3 separate regions of the Homo sapiens genome follow, and all the other regions are linked to region 1. Evidence: promoter capture Hi-C in 16 types of primary human blood cells and fetal thymus (Javierre and others, 2016). All regions are on one chromosome and are shown on one strand. The core of a region is centred on a gene start or on the middle of the fragment in contact, and the rest is flanking DNA. Distances in the headings are between cores, read along the strand shown. Region 1 holds the start of UBA3 (ubiquitin like modifier activating enzyme 3). Region 2 overlaps SUCLG2-DT (SUCLG2 divergent transcript). Region 3 holds the start of SUCLG2 (succinate-CoA ligase GDP-forming subunit beta).

Region 1 (4,654 bases), core at 1,551-4,050:
GTTAGATTTTTCTCACAAAAATTTTCAACTTATATTACATGAGAAATGTTAAGACTCAAATATTCAAACAAAATCAGTTGTGAATATTCAATCTCATATTTTAAGAAAAATTTAGTTTCACAAAACAATTTTATTAGTATTTTCATTGTAAGAGCAAATTAAAAAAGAAGCATTCTATTAGTTTTGAAACATAAAACTATTAGAGCAGTTATTTAAAAATAAACGTTTCTCACTTCAGTGCTCGGTTCGAAATCAGGGTGTGTGAAGGGTCCAGATCGCTCGAGGAACTTCTTTACATGGTTCCAGCGACCTTCCCAGTCTCCAGTGTCCCCACACCCACCATCAACAGCCATTCTGCACAGAACACAGTAAATTCAGCTGCAAAGATCAGTATGAAAAAAACCACACCTACAACTATTATGGTATCCCCAAATGAAAAGGTAACCACACCAGACCTGCTCAAATAAAAAGGAAAATATTCAATGTGATTATGTTTATGCTTTGAAATTTTTTCTTGCCTATTATACAATTCATTTAAAGTTAAGAACTGCACGTTTCTATTTTTATTTCACCCAATGGATGAAATAAATCAGTCTACATGTTTTTGGTTTCCTAAAGCAATCCAAGGTTCAACTTAGGATATTGGTCTATTATGTGAGAAATTGACTTCTCTACATTTGGTATTTACAAAAAAAACACTGCAAGCTTCCTCAATCTGTTGTTTCATCACACTTGCATTAGGAAATATGAGATACAACAGAGAAAAAAAGTCACACTTTCAGAATTCTGATGCTTATATGTCTGATGCAAATTTAATATTTATGTGTCCTTTCCAAAGGTGTAATCTAAAAATCACTTTGATGAGAGGAATTTTCACACACTTTTCTCAGAAATAAGGTTATTTTTTCTTTTTCTTTTTCTTTTTTTGTGACAGAGTCTCACTGTGTTGCCCAGGCTGGAGTGCAGTGGTGTGACTGCAGCTCACTGCAGCCTTGCCCTCCTGGGCTCAAGTGATTCTCCTGCCTCAGCCTCCCAAGTAGCTGTGCCTACAGGTACATGCCACCATACCCAGCCAATTTTTGTATTTTTAGTAGAGACGGGTTTCGCCATGTTGCACAGGCTGGTCTGAAACTCCTGAGCTCAAGTAATCCGTCCACCTCGGCCTCCCAAAGTGCTGGGATTACAGGCATGAGCCACCGAACCTGGCAGAGGTCTTAATTTTTTAAAGAATCTCTTAATGCTGTGGGACGGCTTTTCTTGCCACTAAACACAAAGTTTCAGATTACAATTACGCCACAGATAGACATCTACAAACCTTTTAGAACATACAACAGAATAAGGTGGGACTCCTCTACAAAATTCATCTATTTTATACTTAGTTAAGATTCACGTTTGGTTGTGATTATTTTTAATTTTCTAATTTCCTATAACTCCACAGTTTCTACCGTCAAATATATTAGTAATATCCAATTTTTACAAAAGGGACCAAGAAGTATTGCCTAGCAATAAAAACCATACGTTTTGATGTCAGAGTTGTGTTGGGTTCCACAATTAACAGCACTGTGACCTTGAGCAGATTACTTAATAGACATAAACCTCATCTGCAGGCCGTTCATAGCTACTTCTTTCAGCCATGAGGATATAGATAATCACACAGAAGACTCAGTACAGTACGTGGGATATGGTAAGCAATGTTTAATTGTGATTTCATGTAAAAGTGGGAGGGAAATAAAAGGCAGGAAAGAATGTGAAATTAAGTTTGTCATCCCGGTCCTCTTGCAGCTGAAATTCAACTGAGGGACACACATAAAGATCAAAGCACTGCTACTGGGAATCGGCACGGAAATTTACAAACTCACCATAACCAATGCAAGAGTATTTTTTCCCTGCCCAGGCAGGGAGGGGAGTAAATTATGTGGCGCTGGCCAGGTTAGAAAACACTTCGATTAAATCTGTCTCACCAGCATAGAATTAAGCATCTGATAAGAAATAGGGTGTGTAGTAAAAGGGATAAATAGGCTGTTTGAAGTCAACAACCTCTTTCCAGATCTTTTAAGAGCCAATTATTCTGCCAAAATGACTGGAGTGCTTAGTACAATACCTGACATGTAGAGTTATCATTAAAAGTTTGCAATTAGTACTACTGTCTCAGTGTTTGCAAAAGGCCACAAAACGGTCTTGTGTCCTTTTCCTGTGTGTTTAAGGTAGATTGCCTTTTCACAGGGTCACTGCTCTGACAATTTGGGATGGAGGAAGAGGAGTGCACAAGGGTCCTTCCTCAAGACCTTTACGTCAAGCACCCCGGAGGGCCCCTGCAGGAGCTGGGGCAGTACAGCCTGGCCCCGACGCCCGCACCGGGCAGATACCGGGAGCGGCCCGCCAGGCCCCCGGGGCTGCGGGGCGGGGATCAGGGGATGAGGCAGCGCGGCCTGCGCTCCGGGTGTCCCCCTCCCAGCCCCCCGGGCCCGCTGCGGCTGGTCCCCTAGGCCTGGGGTGGGGGGAGGCGGGGGTCCCCGGAGAGGGCCCCGGCCTCCCGGCAGCACTAACTTCTCAGCCAGCAGCTCCTCTATTCTCCTTCTTTTCTTCTCCCTAAAAGAGAGAATAAAAGAAGGGTCAGCATCGCGCTACACACTGGGCGCCGCGAGGGGAGGGGGGCGAGGGGACGGGGCGGGGGGTGTGGGGACCCCGGGTGGCGGCGGCAACCGCCCACCGCCGCGCTCTCTCACAACCCAGCCCAGCCCGGCGCGTCTGCAGAGCCCCGGTACTTACGGCTCCTCGCCATCCGCCATATTGTTCTCCGCCTCTTCCCAGGTGCCCACGCGCGGCAGGGCGGGGAGGAGCGGGACTGGCAAAGCGGGGAGGGGCGGGGCTGGCGAAGCGGGGAGGGGCGAGGCCAGAAACACAACCGGCAGGGAGGTGCGAGGTTGACTGCGGCTGGGCTCCCATGGGCTTTAAAGTCTTGCCCTGTAATTATAATCTTAATTACCTACGCTTAATTAGGTGAATCTTATACCGTGCATAATGTTGCTCTGCAGCGTGAAAATGTAGACAATACATTATGCGTTTACACAAACTATATGTTAATACGTAATTATACAAAATATTGGTATATTCTATGAAAAATTCGTGAAGAACCCTCCCAGTATGCCAGAGCTTTCCTCTGGGGGCAAAGATCAAGGAAATTTTCACTTTCTGCTTTTCAGGATGGTTCCAAAGTCTTTGCCTTTATAAGTACTCACTTGAATAATAAATTTATCTAAATCCGTTTACATTGGTGGGGTGGGAGATTATTATTTTCTTTGAACAAATCAGCATTAATATTTTCATGTCACATTCTGTTAGATAAGTTCAGCGGAAACAAAATGATTAAAACTTTTCCTGAGATAAATGTGTATATTTAGATACAAAGAAAAAAGTATAAAGGAAAACAATCACAAAAATCAAAGAATAACTGAGAACACCCATAATCCTATCACCTAAAGATAAATTGTGATAAAAGTTTCAATTATTTTCTTCTAGAGTCAGAAATACAAATATACACTGTGAATCTGGATGGCTGGATAGAGGGAAATGATCATGTTCAAAAATGTATGTATATACACGTACACACACATCTCCTTCTATGGAGTGGGACAAGAATGATATTTGGAATCAAAAGTAACTGATTTTAAATTCTTCTCAGTTGTGAGCTACGAAACCCTTAGACACTTCTATTTCTTCATTTATAAAGTGGGCATAACACTATTCACCTTGTAAGACTGATAATTAAGTAAAATCCAGAGTGGCTCTCAAAATACAGTTCCTGATCAACATCACTTGGGAAGTTTTTTTTAACACAAATTTTCACCCCTCACCGCCCCCACCACGCTCCCCACCGCCCCCCCGCCACCCCACCCTTCAGCCTTCTGCAAAGCCTGGGGTGATTCTCCACTGGTAAAGTTTGAGGGCCACTGAAATGGAGTACATAAAGCCTGATGGGTACTCAGTAAATGTAGCTGCTGTTACTACACTGTGATATTTAACCTCCTCTTGTCCTAGTTTTCAGTGAACCTTAAGGAAAGCTTGTCCTTTATGGTCCCCCAATTAGGTTCAGTTCAATAGCATTCACTGAGCTGAAAGTCAATGCCAGGCAGTGAGCGTGGGAATAGAGTTCACAGTCCCTATCAAGAGATACCAGCCTCCTTCTGCATCACATGTCTCAGCGTCAACTATGAAACTACTTTTTCTTGCCCAGACAACTCCACAGATGGTTTCACTGAGGATTTAACCTCAGTGCTTATCAAAATGGGCTCCTGTAGCCTGAACCCCCAACAATACTGGATACCCTTTGATTAGTGGTAGTGAGCATTGCAACCCTCTCAGATAGTGAAAAGCAGCAGTCACCTTAAAGGCCACCTAGTCCAGTCTCACCCATTTCACAGGGGAGGAAACTGAGGCCTAGGGATAGAGTACAGCTAGCCGATGAAGAAGTCTGCAAAGGTATCTGGCCCTGCATCTGCTTGCTTTGAGACTAACAGCCTGACTCACCATGGTGGTATTTTGATAAACGACACCAGGCACTCTCACTGGCTTAGATTGATTGACGGATTAGAAATAGCCATCTGCCCTTGCCAGGAATGAAAGCAACAGAGACATGCAAGCAAAACCTTCAACA
Region 2 (4,319 bases), core at 368-2,867, 1.4 Mb before region 1:
TCAGAATTTGTCCCCTTCCACAGCAAGGGAGCTGGGCAAAAGCAACATTGTGCCAGTCATTGGTTACAGCTTGCCTTGGTCAGTGGGATGTAAACCCTGGCTCTCTATATGCATGGCAGCCCTGTTAGCTCCAAGGTAATCCTCTGAAGAAGGTTGCAGATACAAACTTTGCAGCAAAAGGAAGAAGTAGTTGGGGGCTGGGCACACAGCATTTGGTAGAGGGGATCTGAAAGGGCTGCATGGTGTTCCCTGCACACACCTATTCCTAAGTGTCCAAAATGTTGGGTCTCTATGATTGGCAACCCCAATAAGCACCATGCTTTTGAGCCAGGGAGGAGAGATTTACCAAAAGAGGGACTATCCTGTTGCTCTTTTGAAGAAGAAAGAAGTGATGGGCAGACAAAATCTGTATAGCTTCAGCTGATTTGGACTTACCAAAGTTGACCCCAAGCAAGTTGCATTAAGGTCCGATAAACACACACTTAGAAAAGGACAGTTGCATTTACTGCGCACCTAATACTGTTTTGTCAACAGCTTTATTGTAGTATAATTTGCATACAATAATGGCACACATTTAATGTGCACAGTGTGATAAATTTTGACATATGTATACATCCATGAAGCCGGCACCACAATCAAGATAATGAACATCTCGCTTACCCCAGAAGTTTCCTGTGCCCTGTCACTCCTCCGTATTCCTCCATCCTCAGGTAATCACTCATATACTTTCTATCACTATAGATTATTATGTATTTTCTAAAATGTTATATAAATAGAATCCTAGAGTATATACTCTCCTTTGTCTGTTGTATTTATTTTGAGATTAATTCATGTTGGTTTCTGCATCAGTCGTTCATTCCTTTTTATTGCTGAGTAGCATTCTGTTGTAAAGACATACCACAATTTGTTTGTCTGTTCACCTGTTGATGGCCTCTAACACTTTTACATGTCATGTTGCATTTATCTGTCATATTCTTTTCACACTACTGTGAGGTAAGTCTTATTATGCCCATTTAAGGGAAGATGCATTTAGACTTCAGAGAGAGAAACTAAGTTACCTAATTGCTCAGCTAATAAGAAACAGAGCTTAGATCTCTGTTTTTTAACTCAGTAAAGCCTATGTTTTTTTTCTTACTTCACCATCTTTCTAAGCACAGATCTGCACACAAAGTTAGATACTCATTAGTTGATTTTTATCTACTCTAATTAGCACAACTTACATATTCAGAAAAGCTTCTCCAATTTTATATGCTTACTTTCAGCTTTGATGCTGTATTTATACCACAGTTGGGAAATAACCTATTTTCTTCTCTGTTTTCTCTTCAAAATAATAAACCAGAAGAATTCAGTATCCAAAATTTGGTCGTTTTTACTCTACTATACTGAACAATTAGTCCATTTTACTATCATGCCAAACAGCTCACACTTTAACAAATCAACACTAAGTGTGCTCTATTCAGATGCCTTGAAATTTCAAAGTAAAATGGCAAATGATACTAGATGAAAAACGTTAAGAATTTCAGCAGATTTTGCAGTGATGAAACTTTGTCTTACCTCTTAGAAAATGCCATTGCGCTGACTTTAGTGCCTTAAACTTCTAAATTGCATTTGACTTACATGTTTTCACTTGTGTGTGTACAGTCTCCCCAATTCAGTTGTGAACTCTTTGAGATCATCTAGCAAGCCAACTCTCTATAAAATCTGTATGTCCGAGTTCAAAGCTCTAACTCCACTCAACCCAGATGGTATACATTCAAATCCTGTTGGCCTAACATTTTCAAATGGAAAGAATACAATTAGAAAGATTTTACCTGAATTATAGAAGCCTCATAAAGCAGTGAGAGCCTAGAGGCTAAGGAGTCATGGGGAAGTTAAATAAAGTCTTAGTCATGAAGATCCTGTTGAAGCTCTGTCTGTATCCCCTAAGTGCTTGCCTCTGTAGTCAGCTTACTGAAAACCCTTTAATTCTCTCCACCTAAGGTCATTTCTCTGTCTTTGGAAGCAAGCTTGGCCAGCATGCAGGGCAGGCTAGAAGTGCAGAAAGGTTAATGCTCCAGGAATCAATCCTAAACCAATAACAGAAAGTTGGTAGATAAGTACCTTAGCACCTTTGCTTCTGGGAAGGGGTAATTCTAAAGCTGTTCTACTTTGTTTTGAGTTCCCCCAGTGAGTTGGGTTCTGTTACCCACAGCAGTCAGCTGCTCAATAAATCACCCTTTATTATCTTCCTTCTCTGTCTCATGTCTCAGTTTTTCTCCCTCTGTGTCTTGGGATCACTTCTCAAATAAACTTCTTGCACCAAAATCCCTGTCTCAGAGGCTAATATGGGGGAAAGCCAAAGACAGACGTTAACCACCATGGCACGTCTATAGCGTATTGGGTTAAATATTTTATATACATTAATCCATTCAATCCCCATAATGAAGATAAGAGGTGGGTATTTTTATTCTTATTTGATGAATAAATGAAGTCTGAAAAGTTAAGAAATTTACCCATGTTTACACTTTATGTGGCAAAGTCAGGTGCCCTGCGCCCCCAAGTGAGTGAATCCCAACCCTATGTTTTGTATTTTTGTTTTTTTGGTTTTTTTGAGACAGTCTTGCTCTATCACCCAGGCTGGAGTGCAGTGGTGTGATCTTGGCTCACTGCAACCTCTGCCTCCTGGGTTTAAGAGATTCTCATGCCTCAGCCTCCCAAGTAGCTGGGATTACCGGCACCCACCACCACACCCAGCTAATTTTTGTATTTTTAGTAGAGACAGGGTTTCACCATGTTGGCCAGGCTGGTCTCCAACTCCTGACCTCAGGTGATCTGTCCGCCTTGGCCTCCCAAAGTGCTGGGATTACAGGCGTGAGCGACCATGCCCAGCCTCAACCCTATGTTTTACACACTATAAAAACTCTCAGGCTAGCTCCCTTGGAATTGTGGAGTACAGAATTAACCCAACCTCACCTGTTAGCACTGGAAAATGTCAACATCTTTTTCTTATATTTATGATAGTGCCCAGGAAAGGACTGGGTACATTACAGCTCCCAGTAAAAGCTGGTTAAATTGCAAGGATTTTTTCTTTATTTGTTGTGACTCTTGTGAAACCTTGACCAGCAATTTAGAATGAACATTGGCTTTGCTAGCTGTGTTTGCAGAAGTAATATCAAAATGATATCCTATTCATGTTTCTGCAAGAGTAATGTCTACCATTCATTCTGGCCTCACTGATGGTGTGCTGATAAGATTACTATAAGTGAACATTCTCATTCTGTGCCTCTCATTATTGAGGAAGGAAACTCAAGGAGTTCCAAATATATTTTATTTTTTTAATATGATAACATGCACACACAATTTTCCTCATTCTTGAATATATGCAATTTATCTATCAGAGCAGGTTTCATTTTTTATGCACTTGCATTTATTCCTTTCTCATCCATGTGTCAGAGAGAAGGGATTGTAATCACTGAAGGAGCATTTGTATAATAAAAGTGATATCTGCAATTCCTTCAGAGAAGAGCGTGAATAAATAATCTGTACATTCTTAATGCATTGCTCCAAATATGAGTTTCAATTTGCACAGAAGTTTCAATAAATTGTTTTGTGTCCCTAAAGACCTACAGATGCCTCATGGGATACATTGTAAAGGATTCCATTTAGAAAGAATTTTGCTTGTGAGTAATATATTCTCTATACTTTTCTTCCCTTTGTTAATGCCTAATGACATTGAATAATACAATCACTTTTTTCTTTTAATAAGTGATAGATACAACATGAACTTCAGTCTAAAGTTTCTGACTTGTTCAGAATTCATCAACAACTTTTCATTCAAGGATTTCAAAGCACAGCATACAACCAAAATTGAGGTCAAATTGTGATGTGGTTTGGCTCTGTGTTCTCACCCAAATCTCATGTTGAATTGGGATTTTGAGTGTTGGAGGCAGGGCCTGGTGGGAGGTGACTGGACCATGGAGGTGGTTATAATGGCTTCGCACCATCCCCCAAGTGCTATCTTGTGATAGAGTTCTCACGTGATCTGGTTGTTTGAAAGTGTGTAGCATCTTCCCCTTCTCTATCTCTGTCTCTCTCTCTCTCTCTCTCTCTCCTGCCATCCGTAAGAAGACGTGCTTGCTTCCCCTTCACCTCTGCAATGATTGTAAATTTCCTTAGGCCTCCCCAGCCATGCCTCCTGTACAGCCTGCGAAACTGTGAGCCAATTAAATCTCTTTTCTTCATAAATTACCCAGTCTCAGGTAGTTCTTTATAACACTGTGAGAATGGACTAACACAAATTGTAACTTGAATTTGTATAATAATTAACTTTGCATTTAATA
Region 3 (4,979 bases), core at 2,462-4,961, 1.4 Mb before region 1:
GTGCCCTCAGCCAACATTTCCCCTAAGACTTGACTGGCAGTATGTACTCATATCTTGCCCACCATGGCAGTGCCTGGCTATATTACACCACCAAGTACTGCACACACTTTTCACTTGGCTATATGGACACAGCAACATGGCCCCTGTCTACCAGGATTTAGGTCTTTGGAAAGACTTCTAACCATGGTTAGACCCTTACTGCTAAATTCACTGAACACCACTCTGCTAAAAGTTTCAAAGCCAGCCTAACTTAGATTTATAACAGGGGGCGTGTACAGTACATTAATTACATGCCTGTGCTTTGGCTGCCAGGACTGGGATTCAGCCTCTGTATGGTTTAAACCCCTGAAACCTCCTTAGCAGACCCTGCAGGTCTCCACATGATTTGGCCCTTGTCTTCCTCTCAGACCTAGTCTACTACCACTTTCCCCCTCTAATTACCTAGACATGCCCAGCTCATTCTCATCTCAGTCTTTGCACTTGCTGTCTGCTCTGCCTAACACACTCTTCCCCTTAGTCTCACCTAGCTGGCTACCTTTCATCGCTCAGGTCTCAGCTCATATGTCAAAAAGGCCATCTCCAGGATCACTTACATATAATGCTGAGCAATGTGAAGTATGTGTATGCCTACATATAATTTCACCTAAAGTACAAAACTGAACAAAACCAGCGTTATAAGTCAGGGGACTGGTGACCCTTTGTAGGGTGGAGGTAGTGACAGGCAGGAGCACCAGGGGGCCTCTGGGTTGTTGTTAAATGATCGTTTTCTTCATCTGTACCTAGTTAGCTGGGTTTGCATTCAGTTTATGAAAATTCATCAAGTTGTTCATTTGTAATTGTTCATTTTTCAGTATGTCTTATATTTCAGTTTAAAAAATTATGCCAATCAAAAACACACCATATCAAATAGGTCTCCTCTGATCATCCAGTCTAAACTACCCTGCTGTGAAGCAATCCATTCTCCATCCCATGACCCTGACTGATTTTCTTCACAGAATCTGTCATTGGCTGAAATCATTTTCATTATTGGTTATATGTGTACTGGCTCACTCTCTCCCACCTCCATTAAAATAAAGTATCACGTGGCCAAAGACTCTGCCTGCCTCATTCACCATCCCCAAACCCCAGGGCCTACAACAGTCCTGCCAAATGGTATGGGCTGAATAAAAACTATATGAAAAATAAGAAATGACTAAAGTGGACCCTTTAAGGACGTACTATCAATCAAAAGTCAAAACAGTAAAGCTAACAGCAAAGGTGAAAAAAAAAAAAAAACTTCAATGACACTAAGCATCAGGAATATGTGTCAAATGTTAAATTTAACCATAGGGAGGAGGTAGACAAAATGTCATTCTATGGGTATCTTTGAGAGACCAGTTAAAGTTATTTCTCTAAGCAGAAACTGGGTCTTTTATTTCTGTACAGACAACAGTTTTTCACAAGGCCTGGTGGTATAAAATAGGTCTGGGCCAAGAGTGGCAACAGATTTCTGAGACACTTGGTGAGGATTCTTAAGTATGATGAGAGAAGTGGGCCATGTTTAACTGCAATGTCTGCCACGGGCAAGGGACTATGGAAACGTAATATCAAATCAGTGTACATGAAACAGATCATAGGAAGCACCCAAGAATTTGAAAATAGCAATACTCACCATTTTTATGGACAATTCTAAGATGGTCATAAAGAAAAAAATAAAAATGTGTCAGTGGTGCTAATGACTTGGATGTTATATAGTTACTACTGGCATGCAGATTAATTTGCATGTTGATATAATATATTTTCATGAGGAAGTATATACTCACCAGGAAACAGCATGGTGTAACGGAAACGTAAAGGTAAGCCTTTACTCTGGAATGCCACAAACTCTCACTGTATCGTTGAATATGTCATTGAACTTCTTTAGGCCTCAATTTCTCTACCCATGAAATGAGCTGGCTGGACTAAATGATTGCTAATGTCCATTTCCAGTTCTTGGACACTGTGTACCTTTCTATCTTTAAAAAAACCTACTTTTACCTTCTAAGAATTTACAGAAAAACACATCATCCACAAATATGTAAATCACAGTAACCAGATGGGGCGTGCTAACAGATCTTTTTACCCAGTTTTCTTGACAAACCAAGAGTATCTCTCCCCAACCAGATTTTCTCCTGTGTTGCGTTCAGCCTCTTATTTCTTGGTTAGGGAAGTAGGCTTCACATATTTCAGCTAAACACTCTGCATTTTCAGTTTCTCTGTACAATTCATGAGTTTTCACTGCCCTGGGCCCCATGTTTCTCATCAATTCAAGTCTACACTCATGGTAAGCACCCTAGTTCTTGTTTTTTCTAACACTTAAATAATGAATAGGACTTCATCTCCTAGAGCTATTCTCCTTACTCTATTACAACAGTTATTAGTGAGTTTTAATTAGACAAAACTGCCATTCCTTTTGCTACCTCACTATACTGTCAAGCACCTATTAAGAATATTACAGTAGTAAGTATTAGCACCTTTTAAATTTACATTAACAATAACAGAGAAATGGGGAGGCAGGAAATGAAAGGAGAGGGGTAAAAATAGCTCACAGATGTCATAACCAAAGTTTAGAGGAACTCAAAAAATCATTAATCACTATTTTTTAAATTTTCTAAAAAACTATACTATGCACATCCTGGTTAAAATTGTATGAGTGATAATTTGCCTCTCATCAATTAAAAATGGGGAAATAGGCAAGGTCATTAACTCTGCTGTGGCTGAATCCCAGACTGTGCTTTCTTTAAAAGGGAAGAGAGATAGTCTACGGAGACTAACCAGTTCAGTGGTTGAGTGATTTCTACAAGAGTCATCACCAACTCAAAACTTTCCTGAAGTCCTTCTGACTATTTTAACGCTTGCCATCTGCAGAAGGTAAAAATCTGCTAGAGGCCAAGTTCCAATCGCTATCCAGCCCACCACTGACCCTCTTTGATTTCATTCTCCATCAACAAGGAGGACATGGACAGGGTCAATGGTCTAATGCGTTTTAGTGACAGCCCTGATTTTTCATTGGAAAGAGGAGAAAGATCGTTTCCCATTTTTCTCCTTGACCCACGGATTTGACCAACTCAGGCACATTAAAAGTCTGCAAAAGCAGGTAGCCTGCAGGAAGTTCACCCTAGGGGGTGAGTTCCTAGTTGGGCTGAAACGGGTTTCCAGGCATGTTTATCACGTGGTCTAAACGTGCTCAGGGTTAGTGCCAGAAGTTTGAAAAGCAGAATTAGTAGAGCTGACAATAAAACCTCAGGGCTCCAAAACCCGGTCCAAGAAACTTTTCTTAAACTTGCGTCCAGCGCCTGCTTCAGCGCCTTCGCCATGAGTCTGCGCGGGCAGACAGCGGAGACTCTAGTGCGTTGGGTCGCTCATACCCCGAGGCACCCGGGGCTGCCGCCGCGCCGCCCCTGCCCCACACTGGAGCGGGGTTCCCTGCTGCGCCTGGACCCGGCGCCGCGTCACCTCCCGAAGTGGGGCGCCCGAGGGGCCGCGCAGGGGGTCAGGCGGAGACCAAGAGTAGCAGGGGGCGAGGGAAGCCCGGGCAGGCCGGCGCCGCTGCTGGCGCCCGCAGCTCCTGCCCCCACGCTCACCTGGGACCCGGCCGCCAGGAAGCGGGGCCGCAGCGCTAGGGCTCGCAGAAGCTTCCCGGCCTGCGCTGCTACGGGGGACGCCATCTTAAACAGGAAACTCGGCACGGGGCAGTAGGGCGGGCGCGGGCAGGGGAAGGAGGCGGAGGAGGAGCAGCGGGAGGAGGGGTCAGAGGAGAAGCGGGCGCGGGGAGGAAAAGGAGGAGGAGGCAGAGGCGGTCTGGGCCGGGCCGGGCCTGACCCCTGCGTCCCGGGGGCACAGGCGTTCTTAAGGCTGCAGAGCCCTGGGTCCCCCACCCGGCCCCGGTTCACTTTGAGCGGTCCCAAGGCCTGAGGGCCTACTGTCCAGTCCCCAGGTTATCGTCCTGAGCAAAGACAGACCCCGAGCCCTGCGGTCTTGGGGCTCAAACAGTCCCTGGATGGCCAAACAAGCAAATATTCGCCATGGCAGTGGGTGCTGGAAGGGTGGCTCACGGAGCTGACGCCCTCCGCAGAGAACCGTGGTCTAGTCCTGCGGTCACGAGGCCTATCTGGGACAGTGGTGTTTGAGCTGAGACTTTAACGAATAGAGACAGGTGAGGTTCCTGCAGCCCAGGGCTTCAGGTGAGTCAAGGAGAGGCCATTGGAGGCTCTCCATCCCTTAAGGAGTTGTGGGTGTTTTGTTTTGTTCTATCCTTAACCTAAAATCAATGTAAAGCTGAGAGATGAAGCCGGGTGGGTCGGTTGGGGACTTGGAGAACTTCTCTGTCTAGCTAAATGATTGTAAATGCACCAATCAGCGCTCTGTGTCTAGCTAAAGGTTTGTAAATACACCAGCCAGCCCTCTGTGTCTAGCTAATCAGGTGGGGACTTGGAGAACTTTTCTGTTAGCTAAAGGATTGTAAATGCACCAATCAGTGCTCTGTGTCTGGCTAAAGGTTTGTAAACACACCAATCGGCACTCTGTAAAAACGCACCAATCAGCGCTCTGTGTCTAGCTAAACGTTTGTAAATGCACCAATCAGCACTCTTTAAAAAGGGACCAATCAGCACTCTGTAAAATGGACCAATTGGCACTCTGTAAAATGGACCAATCAGCAGGATGAGGGTGGGGCCAAATAAGGGAATAAAAGCTGGACACCGGCGCCAGTAGTGGCCCCTAGTTGGGGTCTCCTTCCAGGTTGTGGTTGCTTTGTGCTTTTGCTTTTTGCAGTAGCTCTTGCTGCTGTTCACTGTTTGGGTCCGCACTATCCTTATGAGCTATAACACTCACCACAAAGGTTTGCAGTTTCACTCCTGAGGTCAGGGAGACTGCGAACCCACTGGGAGGAATGAACAACTCCGTATGCCCCACCTTCGAGGGCTGTAACACTCACTGCAAAGGTCTGCAGCTTCATTCGT

The links. Contacts are between HindIII fragments. The CHiCAGO score rates a contact against its expected background, and 5 or more counts as called.
Region 2: a fragment that was not itself captured here is called in contact with the fragment with the promoter of UBA3 in region 1 in 1 of 17 cell types (non-activated CD4 T cells); the score reaches 5.6 in non-activated CD4 T cells.
Region 3: a contact is called between the fragment with the promoter of SUCLG2 here and the fragment with the promoter of UBA3 in region 1, in 2 of 17 cell types (naive B cells and total CD8 T cells). The highest score is 6.7, in naive B cells.

What each region holds. Positions count from the first base shown.
Region 1 is chr3:69,077,565-69,082,218 of GRCh38, forward strand. It overlaps UBA3 (ubiquitin like modifier activating enzyme 3), which reads right to left and starts at 2,801. Exons shown (of 18, transcript NM_003968.4): 1 at 2,770-2,801; 2 at 2,548-2,589; 3 at 234-354. The coding sequence starts at 2,789. RefSeq lists silencers at 2,280-2,509, 2,630-2,719, 2,840-2,909 and an enhancer at 4,513-4,572. The HindIII fragment of the contact is 3,356 bases long and covers 704-4,059 here.
Region 2 is chr3:67,670,295-67,674,613 of GRCh38, forward strand. SUCLG2-DT (SUCLG2 divergent transcript) reads left to right here. Exons shown (of 7, transcript NR_109992.1): 3 at 535-710. Among named protein-coding and RNA genes, the nearest start is that of SUCLG2-DT, 18 kb to the left of the region's middle. The HindIII fragment of the contact is 773 bases long and covers 1,232-2,004 here.
Region 3 is chr3:67,650,901-67,655,879 of GRCh38, forward strand. It overlaps SUCLG2 (succinate-CoA ligase GDP-forming subunit beta), which reads right to left and starts at 3,712. Exons shown (of 11, transcript NM_003848.4): 1 at 3,603-3,712. The coding sequence starts at 3,686. It overlaps SUCLG2-DT (SUCLG2 divergent transcript), which reads left to right and starts at 3,797. Exons shown (of 7, transcript NR_109992.1): 1 at 3,797-4,202. RefSeq lists a silencer at 3,324-4,003 and an enhancer at 3,519-4,018. The HindIII fragment of the contact is 5,512 bases long and covers 3,652-4,979 here.